Linked DNA regions of Homo sapiens: regions 2 and 3 are each linked to region 1. Evidence: promoter capture Hi-C in 16 types of primary human blood cells and fetal thymus (Javierre and others, 2016). All regions are on one chromosome and are shown on one strand. Each heading gives the region's core, a stretch centred on a gene start or on the middle of the fragment in contact. The rest is flanking DNA. Distances are from core to core; before and after follow the strand shown.

The links. The method cuts DNA at HindIII sites, captures the fragments that hold promoters and counts their contacts. A CHiCAGO score of 5 or more calls a contact.
Region 2: a fragment that was not itself captured here is called in contact with the fragment with the promoter of ZNF283 in region 1 in 8 of 17 cell types (non-activated CD4 T cells, total CD4 T cells, naive CD8 T cells and 5 more); the score reaches 24.1 in non-activated CD4 T cells.
Region 3: the fragment with the promoter of ZNF793 here is called in contact with the fragment with the promoter of ZNF283 in region 1 in 1 of 17 cell types (non-activated CD4 T cells); the score reaches 5.7 in non-activated CD4 T cells.

Annotation. Positions count from the first base shown.
Region 1 is chr19:43,825,475-43,828,904 of GRCh38, forward strand. It overlaps ZNF283 (zinc finger protein 283), which reads left to right and starts at 1,847. Exons shown (of 7, transcript NM_181845.2): 1 at 1,847-1,970; 2 at 2,728-2,807. RefSeq lists an enhancer at 1,705-1,904. The HindIII fragment of the contact is 6,325 bases long and covers 1-3,430 here.
Region 2 is chr19:37,236,094-37,239,523 of GRCh38, forward strand. The region is part of intron 5 of ZNF383 (zinc finger protein 383); the gene reads left to right. Among named protein-coding and RNA genes, the nearest start is that of LINC01535, 14 kb to the right of the region's middle. The HindIII fragment of the contact is 3,665 bases long and covers 1-3,430 here.
Region 3 is chr19:37,505,210-37,508,639 of GRCh38, forward strand. It overlaps ZNF793 (zinc finger protein 793), which reads left to right and starts at 1,730. Exons shown (of 8, transcript NM_001013659.3): 1 at 1,730-1,757; 2 at 3,056-3,194. It overlaps ZNF793-AS1 (ZNF793 antisense RNA 1), which reads right to left and starts at 1,878. Exons shown (of 3, transcript NR_110723.1): 1 at 1,630-1,878; 2 at 637-831. RefSeq lists enhancers at 648-1,439, 1,440-2,231, 1,797-1,946. The HindIII fragment of the contact is 7,284 bases long and covers 871-3,430 here.

The DNA of each region.
Region 1 (3,430 bases), core at 597-3,096:
TAGACACCCACCAGCGTGCCCGGCTAATTTTCGTATTTTTAGTAGAGACAGGGTTTCATCATGTTGGCCAGGCTGGTCTTGAATTCTTGACTTCAGGTGATCCAGCTGCCTCAGCCTCCCAAAGTGCTGGGATTACAGGTGTGAACCACCATGCCCGGCCTGGAGACTATTATTCTAAGTGAAGCAACTCAGGAATGGAAAATCAAACATCGTATATTCTCACTCATAAGTGGGAGCTAAGGTGTGAGGATGCAAAGGCCTAAGAATGACACAGTGGACTTTGGGGACTTGGGGGAAAGGGTGGAAAGGGGGTGAGGGATAAAAGACTAAAAATTGGGTGCCATGTACACTGTTCAGGTGATGGGTGCACCAAAATCTCACAAATCACCACTGAAGAAGTTACTCATGTAACCAAACACCACCTGTTTCCCAAAAACCTATGGAAATAAAAAATTAAAAAAAAATCAGACCCCCAAAATATTCAGAGTAGTACTTGTGGGAGTCATTGAGCAAGTAACATGGGAAGAGAGGAGGCTGCTTCCACCAGTGGTTTTGGAGGTGGAGCAGATGCTGATGATAATGAAGTCCCAGATGGGAAACGGGGATGGGTGCCGAGGAAAGCTCAAGGACCCTGCAGATGAGGACTCAGACCCACGATACTGGATGAGGCATCCATGTCACCATGGGAGTCAACCAGGGTAGTGGCCTCAGCTGAGGCAGGGGAAAAGCTGGGATCCAAGAGCTCTAGTCTTCTCTTGATAAGCAAGAGAGACCAGGAGGTGAGAGATGGCAGAGGATGAGAGAGGTGATATCAGTGACCAGAAAGAGCCCCTAAAAAGTAACTTCCTTTTCTTTCTGTTAGTTTTAATATAAAATTTCGCTTTAATATTTTTAGACAATTCTTTTTTAAAAAAGTATTTATATCCAAAGGTTCTTACCACACCAACCACAGCCCCAATCTTTTTGCCCTAACCTCAGAATCAGTTAGTTGTCTCCTTTAAAACCTTTCTCTCTCTCACACACCCACACACACACACACGCAAACACACAGGAGAGAGAGAGAGGGAATATATAGTATTGTTTTTGGAGTATGAGTGTGTGCTTCAGAATAAATGGTTTCATACTCTATAAAAAATGAGATTCAAATTTTATAATCCATCAAGTTTTATTGGAACACAGCCATGCTGGATTGCTTGTGCATTGTTTATGGCCGCCTTTGCACTGCCATAAGTCTCCACGGTCACAATATCCACTCACTACCACTTATTGTTGTCTTTCAACAGCGGCATATAAAATCTGTAACACAGTTCATCTCACACCTAATAAAACAGACTCACACAGGCATAAATTTAGAAAACATCCCATGAACATAAACAGGTCCACGCAGGGTCCCAGACACCGAATCGAACTAAGAAACTCCCTCACAGCAAGACACACCCATCTGTTCAATTGCCAGACACTGTTCCAGGCGCTCATACCCAGGTAAACTGGTAGTGTCGCGCAGGTCATTTCCAGCGAACTTACCCCGGATTCCCTTGCTCGCTCACGTCTAAGTCCCCAGACACCCCAGTCCCATCTTCGCCTGTTCTAGACTCCAGAATGCGTTCCTTAGCGAAAGCTGAGAACCTTTTAATTCGCTCTCAGTCAACACCAAAGACCCTCAAGCAAAAGCAAGAGCTCCCGGGCGTCTTCGAAAAAAGCGCCTTTGACAGGTGAAGCCAAGTTGCATGCTGGGAGCATCCCTGCTGTCCAGGTTTCAACTTCCGGAGACTCTGCCGCTGTGGACTACATTTCCCAGAAGTCTCCGGGGCACAGGCCTTTTAGGGGCGGGGCGAGCTTGCCTGCCAGAAGCTCCTCTCCCAGCCTGCGAGCATTTCCAGGCTCTTGTTTCCCATCAGCCTCTGGGTCCAAACTAACCACAGGTCTCTGGGTCCTTTTCCGGTGTCCTTAAGGTTCTTGGACTCTGCATGGTGAGTTGGTCGTGTCTGTAGAAGTAATCAGCCCGGGTGAAGCTGGGAGGGCTCGGCTGGCTTTACTGGGGCCCGACTGGAACCGGCAGTGAGGGTGGGGGTGGCATCGGGGGTGCTGGAGGTGGGGAGGGCTGGGTCACGGACAGAGCGTGTCGTGTCCGGATCCTCAAGCCTGTGTGCACGCGAGCAGCCGAGGGACAGTGTGTCTCAGACGGCGTGGCAGGGACGGGGCGTGTCCCCACGGAGGTGGGTGCAGTTGTGAATGTGTGACGGGCTGACAGGGTGCGTGGCCGTATTTGTAAATGTGATTTGCTTTGACCAAATGCTCTAGGTTCCCTTTAGCCTGTCTTCGGGCCTGCCACAATTAAATGACCGCAAGAAAGAAGTCTATGCTAAGCCCCATAATGAACGTTTCAAGCAAGAAGGATGAGAATTTTAGATCTGGAAGTGTCCGCGGGACAGGATCTTGTCAAGACCTGATGGGGAAGTTCTAGAGGTGGGATTCCTAGAAGAGGGGCCTCTAGGAGCTCTTTGGTGGTGAGCTACATGTTTCAGAGCCATTGCAAGCAGACCTCTGTCCCCAAGAATTGCCCTCAACACAGAGACAGACTCTAGCCTCCCTTTTCATTCCGTTTGGTTTTGTGTGGATGAAGGCAGAAGTGGCCCCAGAGGGTGTTTTGCTCTTCTTTTTCTTTTTTAATTAAGTCTGTGACGCGCTAGAAATGCTGATGTCTCATGTTACTGTTTTTTCCCCCAGTGCTGCCAGGTTGCCAGATTTCTAAGAAGGAGTTTGAAGAGGAGAAAAGGATTTTTGCATGTTTAGAAATCAAGGTTCAGGTGAGGTTTTTTATACATACTTTTTAAATACATACACATACAATTACCTTTGCTTCTAGGTCATGAGAACATTTTCTTTCCTTGGCCTGAAATATCTTGACTGGGTTTTCCCAGTTACATGACCCGCCATGCTGGTACATATTTCCTCCCAGTGGCCCCCTATTGTTCTTCTCCACAATTCTTACCCACCTGTTCATATGGCAAATTGTTCAAATACTTCAGTGCATTATGATGCACTGAAGAGTTATAGAAAGGCACCTCTTGTAGATTGCTATTAGAGCATTATTTTATACTATGATTATTTGAAGAGATTAGTAATTAGGTGGTGTTATATAAACATTATTTTTTATCTTTTCTGTAGTCATAATTAAAATTTTTTTTTAACTTTTTTTAGAGACAAGGTCTCACTCTGTTGCCCAGGCTGAGTGCAGTAGTATAGTCATAGCTCAGTGCAACCTTGAAGTCCTGGGCTCAGGTGTTCCTCTGGCCTTGGCGTCCCAAAGTGCTGGGACTGCAGGTGTGAGCCACCATGCCTGGCCCATAGTCATGATGCTTAAAGAAAGGCAAGGTATAAGGGATTTTAAGTAAGGGAATGTTTCTGGCAGTAAATGACAATGTTGTCT
Region 2 (3,430 bases), core at 348-2,847, 6.6 Mb before region 1:
ACAGGAGAAAGTCACGATAGGTCAGAACTCAGCTGGTCAGGGAGGAAACAGCACCTTTGAGATGTTATCCCTGAAGCTCCCATCAAGAAACTAGGCCAGTGGAGAAAATGAAGTCCTTTTAGCATAGTTGTTAAATAACCTGTTTCGCCCTTTTCCTCACTTACCACTATTTCTACTACTCCTCTCCAATCCTCCTCTTAATTTCAAGCAGAAGGTACCTTTTACTTCTCTAAAAAAAACCCTATTTTACCCGTATTTTAGATTCAGCTGCTTGCTAGCTTTTTTTACTCTCTCTCTTTTTTTTTCTTTTTTTTTAAAGGGTCTGGCTCTGTCACCCAGGCTAGAGTGCAGTGACATGATCATAACTTATTGTAGGCTCAAACTTCTGGGCTTAGGCAGTCTCCCTGCCTCAGCCTTCCAAGTGGCTGGGACCGTAGGCCTGTGCCACCATGCCTGGCTAATTCTTTTTCTTCTTCTGCATTTTTTTTTTTTTTTGAGACGGAGTCTCGCTCCGTCGCTCAGGCTGGAGTGCAGGGTGCGATCTTGGTTCACTGCAACCTCTGCCTCCCGGGTTCAGGCGATTCTTCTGCCTCAGCCTCCTGAGTAGCTGGGACTACAGGCGCATGCCACCATGCCCAGCTAATTTTTGTATTTTTAGTAGAGGTGGGGTTTCACCATATTGGCCAGGCTGTTCTTGAACTCCTGACCTCATGATCTACCCGCCTCAGCCTCCCAAAGTGCTGGGATTACAGGCATGAGCCACCGCGTCCGGCCCCTCTTCTGCATTTTTTAGACTTGTACAGGTGTTTTCTACTACCACTCCCCAAAATAATATAATTGCGTCTGTATACACACATGTGAACACACACACACACACACACACACACACACACACACACACAGAGACACACACACACACACCCCTTGCCCAAGTACTGGTCTTCATTATAGCTGCCTGTCAGTGACCTGTTTTATCAGACTGTCTTCAATGTTTCCTTTATGGAACGTTTTTTAATTTCCTGGTTTGTGTAAGGGAATCTTCCAGGTGCTACAGTTTACTAATTGTGTTACCTTTACAAATTCAAGGTCCAAAAGTGGTGCTAAAATATATACATATATGACTTCCACAAAGTAGAGTAGTATAAAAGAGAAATGAGATAAGGAGTTTAGCAGAAAGTCAAAGGCTAACTATGTAGAAGTGGAATTAATCCCTATTGAAGTAGTAGGTGGAGCCTTGGAAGTGACTGCAATCACTATGTATAGAGATATTGTTGGGGCCAAGAAAAAAAAAGGATCTGTGCCTATATTAAAAAGGAAGAGGTGGCAGAGCAGGAGAGATTTGGGATGAAGTAGGAGAACCAGAAGAGTACTTATTGAGCACTACTATGTACCAAGCATTGGTCCAAGGGCTGGGACTGTAGTATTCATGAAGGCATTCTAAAGTTCTGCACTTCTGAAGCCTACATTCTAGAGGGTAAGAGAGAAAATGTCTTAGTCCATTTTGTGCTGTTACAGCAGAATACCTCACATCGAGTAATTTATAAAGAACAGACATTTATTTTCTCATAGATCTGGAGGCTAAGAATTCTAAGATCAAGGCACTGTCATCTGATGAGGGCCTTCTTGCATCTTCGTGTGGCAGAAGGCAGTAGGGCAAGAGAGCCAACTCCTTCCATCAAGCCCCTTCGTAAGAGCACCGAAACCCATCCTTGAGGGATGGGTCCTTGAAGCCCGATCATCTCTTAAAGGCCTCACCTCTTCGTTTTTGGAATTTTTTTTTTTTTTTTGAGACAGGGTCTCACTCTGTCACCCAGGCTGGAGTGCAGCGGCACAATCATGGCTCACCACAGCCTCAACCTCCCGGGCTCAGGTGATCCTCCCACCTCAGCCTCCCGAGTAGCTCGGCCCACAGGCACACGTCACCACGCCCAGCTAATTTTTCTATTTTTTGTAGAGACAGGGTTTCGCCATGTTGCCCAGGCTGGTCTCTAACTCCTGGGTTCAAGCGATCCACCCACCTTGGCCTCCCAAAGTGCTAGGATTAAAGGCTTGAGCCACTGTGTCTGGCCCCCACCTCTTAATACTATCACATTGGCAACAGCTGAATTTTGAAGGAGAGACATTCAAACCATAGCAGAAGATAAACATGAATGTCAAGTATATATGTATAAAACAATATTAGCATGACATTAATATTATATGATATATAAATATTTTTAGAATTATATATCACTTACATTTATCTACATGTAACTAATATATTGGTATAGTATAAATATATATCATATATTAATAATATTTCTATATTATTATATGTCCATGTGTATATGAAATGTCAGGTGGTGGGTGATAGATAAGTGCTGTGAAGAGAGGCTAGAGAGGGCCTCTCTGATGAGGTGTTCTTTTAGTGAAGACTTGAAGGAAGTGAGGGAACAGGTAATGTAAATATCTGCTAGGAGAGATTCAGGCAAAGGGAACAGGAAGAGCCAAGTACTCGAGTTCAGAGCTTTTTGGCAGCCACCATTATGGCTGAAATTGAATGAGCAAAGCGGGAATTGTAGAAGAGGAGATCAGGAAAGTAGCAGGCTTATGAGTGTTTGCATGCTGGGTGCAGGTCAGGATGGGAGTTGGATGTACCTGTAGATGATTTTGGGTCTTGTGGACCTTGAATTTTACTCCGAATGAGGTGTAAATCCATTGAATGATTTAGCAGAGTGATATTATCATGTTTGCAAAGGATCATTCTTGCTCTAGGGGTTCCTAACTTTGGATTCCTTTAGGTAGAATTCAGGGAGTCCATGAACTTGGATGAGAAGAAAAAAATACATCTTTTTGGTTTTTTTTGAGACGGAGTCTCACTCTGTCACCCAGGCTTGAGTGCAGTGGTGTGATCTCAGCTCACTGTAGCCTCCACCCCGCAGGTTCAAGCGATTCTACTGCCTCAGCCTTCTGAGTAGCTGGGATTATAGGCGCCTGCCACTGCGCCCGGCTCATTTTTGTATTTTTAGTAGAGATGGGGTTTCACCATCTTTGCCAGGCTGGTCTTGAACTTGTGACCTCATGATCCACCTGCCTTGGTCTCCCAAAGTGCTGGGATTACAGGCATGAACCACTGTGCCCAGACCAAAAATACATCTTTATATTTAATAACCTCTAATTGAGATATAACATTTCTTCCTATCGTGATGTATGGGACAAACCATAGTAGCAGTAGTAGTAGTAGTAGTTACTGTGACTTTGACATTAATGGAAATCACAGATACGTTCATATTATTTTACTGTTATTGTAGGCATATTGAAATATTTATGCTCATCACTACTTCAGAATTAATGTAGTACTAGGCTTGCCACTAGGTCTTGTTTAATGTTTTACTAGAGAAGAAAACTCCAGGCAGAGAGAAGAACCCCTGTGAAGGTTCTGATGGGGAAA
Region 3 (3,430 bases), core at 480-2,979, 6.3 Mb before region 1:
TTGAAGTTATCTACTGATGCATAGCAAATTACCCTAAACTCAGAAGCTTAAAACAACAAACATGTAGTATCTTACACACTTTCTGAGGGTGAGGAATATAGGAGCTGCTATAGCTGAGTGCTTGTGACTGTGTCTCTCACGCAGTTGCAGTCAAACTATTGGCAGGGGCTGCTGTCATCTCAAGGTTTGACTGGGGCTGGGAGATGTGCTTCCAAGGGTGATACACTTGGTTATAGGAAGGCCCCAGCTACTCCCAGGCTATTGGGTGGAGGGCTTAGTTCCTTGCTACCTGGGCCTCTCCATAGGCTGTCTCGGTATCCTCATGACATGGCAACTAACTTCTCTCAAAGTGGGGGCAGCAGCCTTTAAGACAGAACTCAAGGTGCCATTTATTATATTTAATCTCAGCAGTGACATCTATCACTGCTACTGCATTCTATTAGTCTCACAGTCCAACCCTGGTACAATGTGGGAGGGAACTACATAAGAGTGTGAATAGTAGGAGGTAGGAATCATTGGGAAACATTTTGAGGTCAGTTATTGTATCAGTTGCTAGGATGACCAGTTGGAATTAGGATTTTTTTAAAAAGCCATTTTCATAAGACAAGGCAATCTTTTCTAGAGATGTTCCAATACCTGTGATATGCGGAGCACTGCGCTAGGTGGTATTCAAGGCAGGCCTGTAGTGAATGCTGTTGGACCCAGCCACCACCCCTGAGCAATCATATGCAGACCGCTGGCTTCTTAACTGCAGACACCTACAGACTCAGCCTAAGACTTTCCCACGAGGCAGGCTCGAAGTGCTGGAGCTTTAACACCTCTGGAGTGGCCCTAAAACAATTAGGAAGAGAGATGGTGTAGACATATGTAAGCTTCATCGGCCTGGTGGTTGTGAAAACTTGGAAGTGGTTTCTACACAATCCCCCAGAGGTCCCAAGCTGACTGAGCCCTCATTGATCCAGAGCTAATCTGCTCACCTATGCACTGTATATTCGTTCCCATCGCTCCCGTCTCACTTCTCCATCCCCCACCTACCAAATAAACTGCTTGCACTCATTCTTTCCTCAGGTCGGCTTCTCGGGCAAGCCTCCTTAGGTAAAAACCTTGCTTTCAACATTTCCTTTCCATTATGCGCTAAGAACTCTGATCTCTTCCCGCTGCGGCAGCCCCGCCCTTTCCTTGCGGCTCCGCCCTTTCCGTGAAGTCACGCCCGTCCTTAGGCTGTCTCTGTCTCCCTAAGAGCGAGTCTCTTCGCTGCTCTCTAACTCCTAGAGCTGGCTCAGAAAGAGTTTCACATTGCCATAGGGGAGCTCCTAGGAGAGGCTGCACCCATTGCACGTAAGAAGCGGTAAAAATGTACGCGGCCATCTTACCAGGCTGCCGGAGACAAAGAAAGCTCAGCTTTGATGTCTGGGCGCCACCATGTTGGCCACAGGAGGTTTTGGCATCTGAGATGCTGAGTTAAGAGCAGAGACGACATCTCTGTTTAGGGATCCAGGGACACTTCCTTCTCCTTGTCCTAAAATAGCCTTATCTTTTGGTCTAGCAAAGGGCTTAATCATCCGTTTTACGGCACAGTTTTAAACATGGCCGCCCCAGGTAGGAGTCAAGTGGGCGTCGCCATCATACCTCCAATTACAGCTTTGAGAAACCCAGAATCCTGTTCACTGGAAGGTTGCCGGGTGGCGGCTGACAGCCTCAAAGTCGCAATTGAGTCTGCGCACCGGCCATTCAGGATGGGACGACCTTATACCGCGGTGAGGCGGCGTGGCAGGACGACCAATTTCAGATTCAGGGCGCGGATGCAGCATAAATGGGAAGGCACGGTTTGAGAAACGGTCAAACCTGGGACTAGTGGAGGATAGTGAGCTGCCGACTACGGTGGCCGACTGGGTCAGCTATGGGTGCCCGTGAGGGTCAATGACAAGGGAACTGAAGGGTTAAGAGATTCGGCGTCTGAGCCTCGCGGGGCCTCAGTGGTGGCGGACAGAGGTTTGCGGGAGTCAGTGGCACGGTCTCTGAAGAAGATGGATTGGGAGTGTGTGGGAATCAATAAATGCGAGTTCTGTGAAATGTCTTGATTTTCAGGGTGCATGGGGTCAGTAATAGTGGTCTTCATGGGTCTGGGGTCAGTTGGGATTTTTCAGACACTGGTTTAGAGATCTTTAAGGTTAATGATCGGAGCCCGAGAGGATCAGTGATCGGAGGTTCTAAGTTCTGTGGGCAGTAATAGTTTGGGTACTGGAATTGGTGATTGTGGAAACTTTGGGGTTCAAATGAGGGAGGTCAGTGGTGATGAATGTTTGGAGAAATGTTTTGGGCCATCGGTGATTGAGACTTACTTCATATCATCGGTGGAGGATCGGAGAGTATTAACGATTGGACTTTTGTAGATCAGGGAATGGAGAATAGAGTCAAGTGTGCTTATCTTAAAGGTACGCCTCAATGAGGCTCAGTGATTCGGACTGTCACTTGTGGGTGGGAGTGGGACTGTGAGAATCAACAATTGATCCTCAGTCGTTGGGATATCATTGGCAATCAGTGTGGATTCATGATTGGGGGCTGTGTAATTTCACTGGCAATCAGATCGGATCGGTGTTCTTTGTAGTTACTGACCTGTAGTCTCTCCTGGTCAGATTTGAACATAGGGGAATATCAGTGACTATGAAAACCTCTGAGGGTTGGAGATTGGAGGCCAGTGATTGGGGGCACTATGCGTGTCTGATTAGGAGACTTATAGGGGTTGGTGTTGAGGGTCCTGAAATGTGGAGATTGGGGATGGGAAAATCACAGATTTGAGGCTGCAAGCCTGCATAGCGGGAACACATTTCACTCAGGTGACACTCCCTAGCTGAATAGCAGCCAGTTCCTCTCCACCAAGGCCCATCTGAAAACTCTTTTTTGAACCCACACCCTTTTTATTGTTCTCTACAATAATGAAAATAATTTGAAAGGATCGCGTGCTAAACTTATCTAAAGTAACATGTTACTAAAGACGTGGCTTCTATTCTTGTTAGGGATCTAATGCATATTTTTTCCTAATGTTTCCTTTAAGGCTCTTTCTGGCAAAGGTAATGACATACGCATCTGTGCCAGCATCCCAAGAGTGAGGCTGGTTTCTGGAAATCCATTCTGACTCTGTGACAGCGGGGATGGATGTGACCTTGCCCGTGGTTAGAAAACAAATTTACTGAGTAAGTATCTAAAATGATAATGTAGGCTGTGTGCAGTGGTTCATGCCTGTAATCCCAGCACTTTGGGAGGCTGAGGTGGGTGGATCATTTGAAGTCAGGAATTACTAGCCTGGTCAACATGGTGAAACCCTGCCTCTACTAAAAACACAAAAATTAGCCGGGCGTGGTGGCGGGCGCCTGAGGTCCCAGCTACTCTGGAGGCTGAGGCAGGAGAATCGTTTGAACCCAAGAGGTGG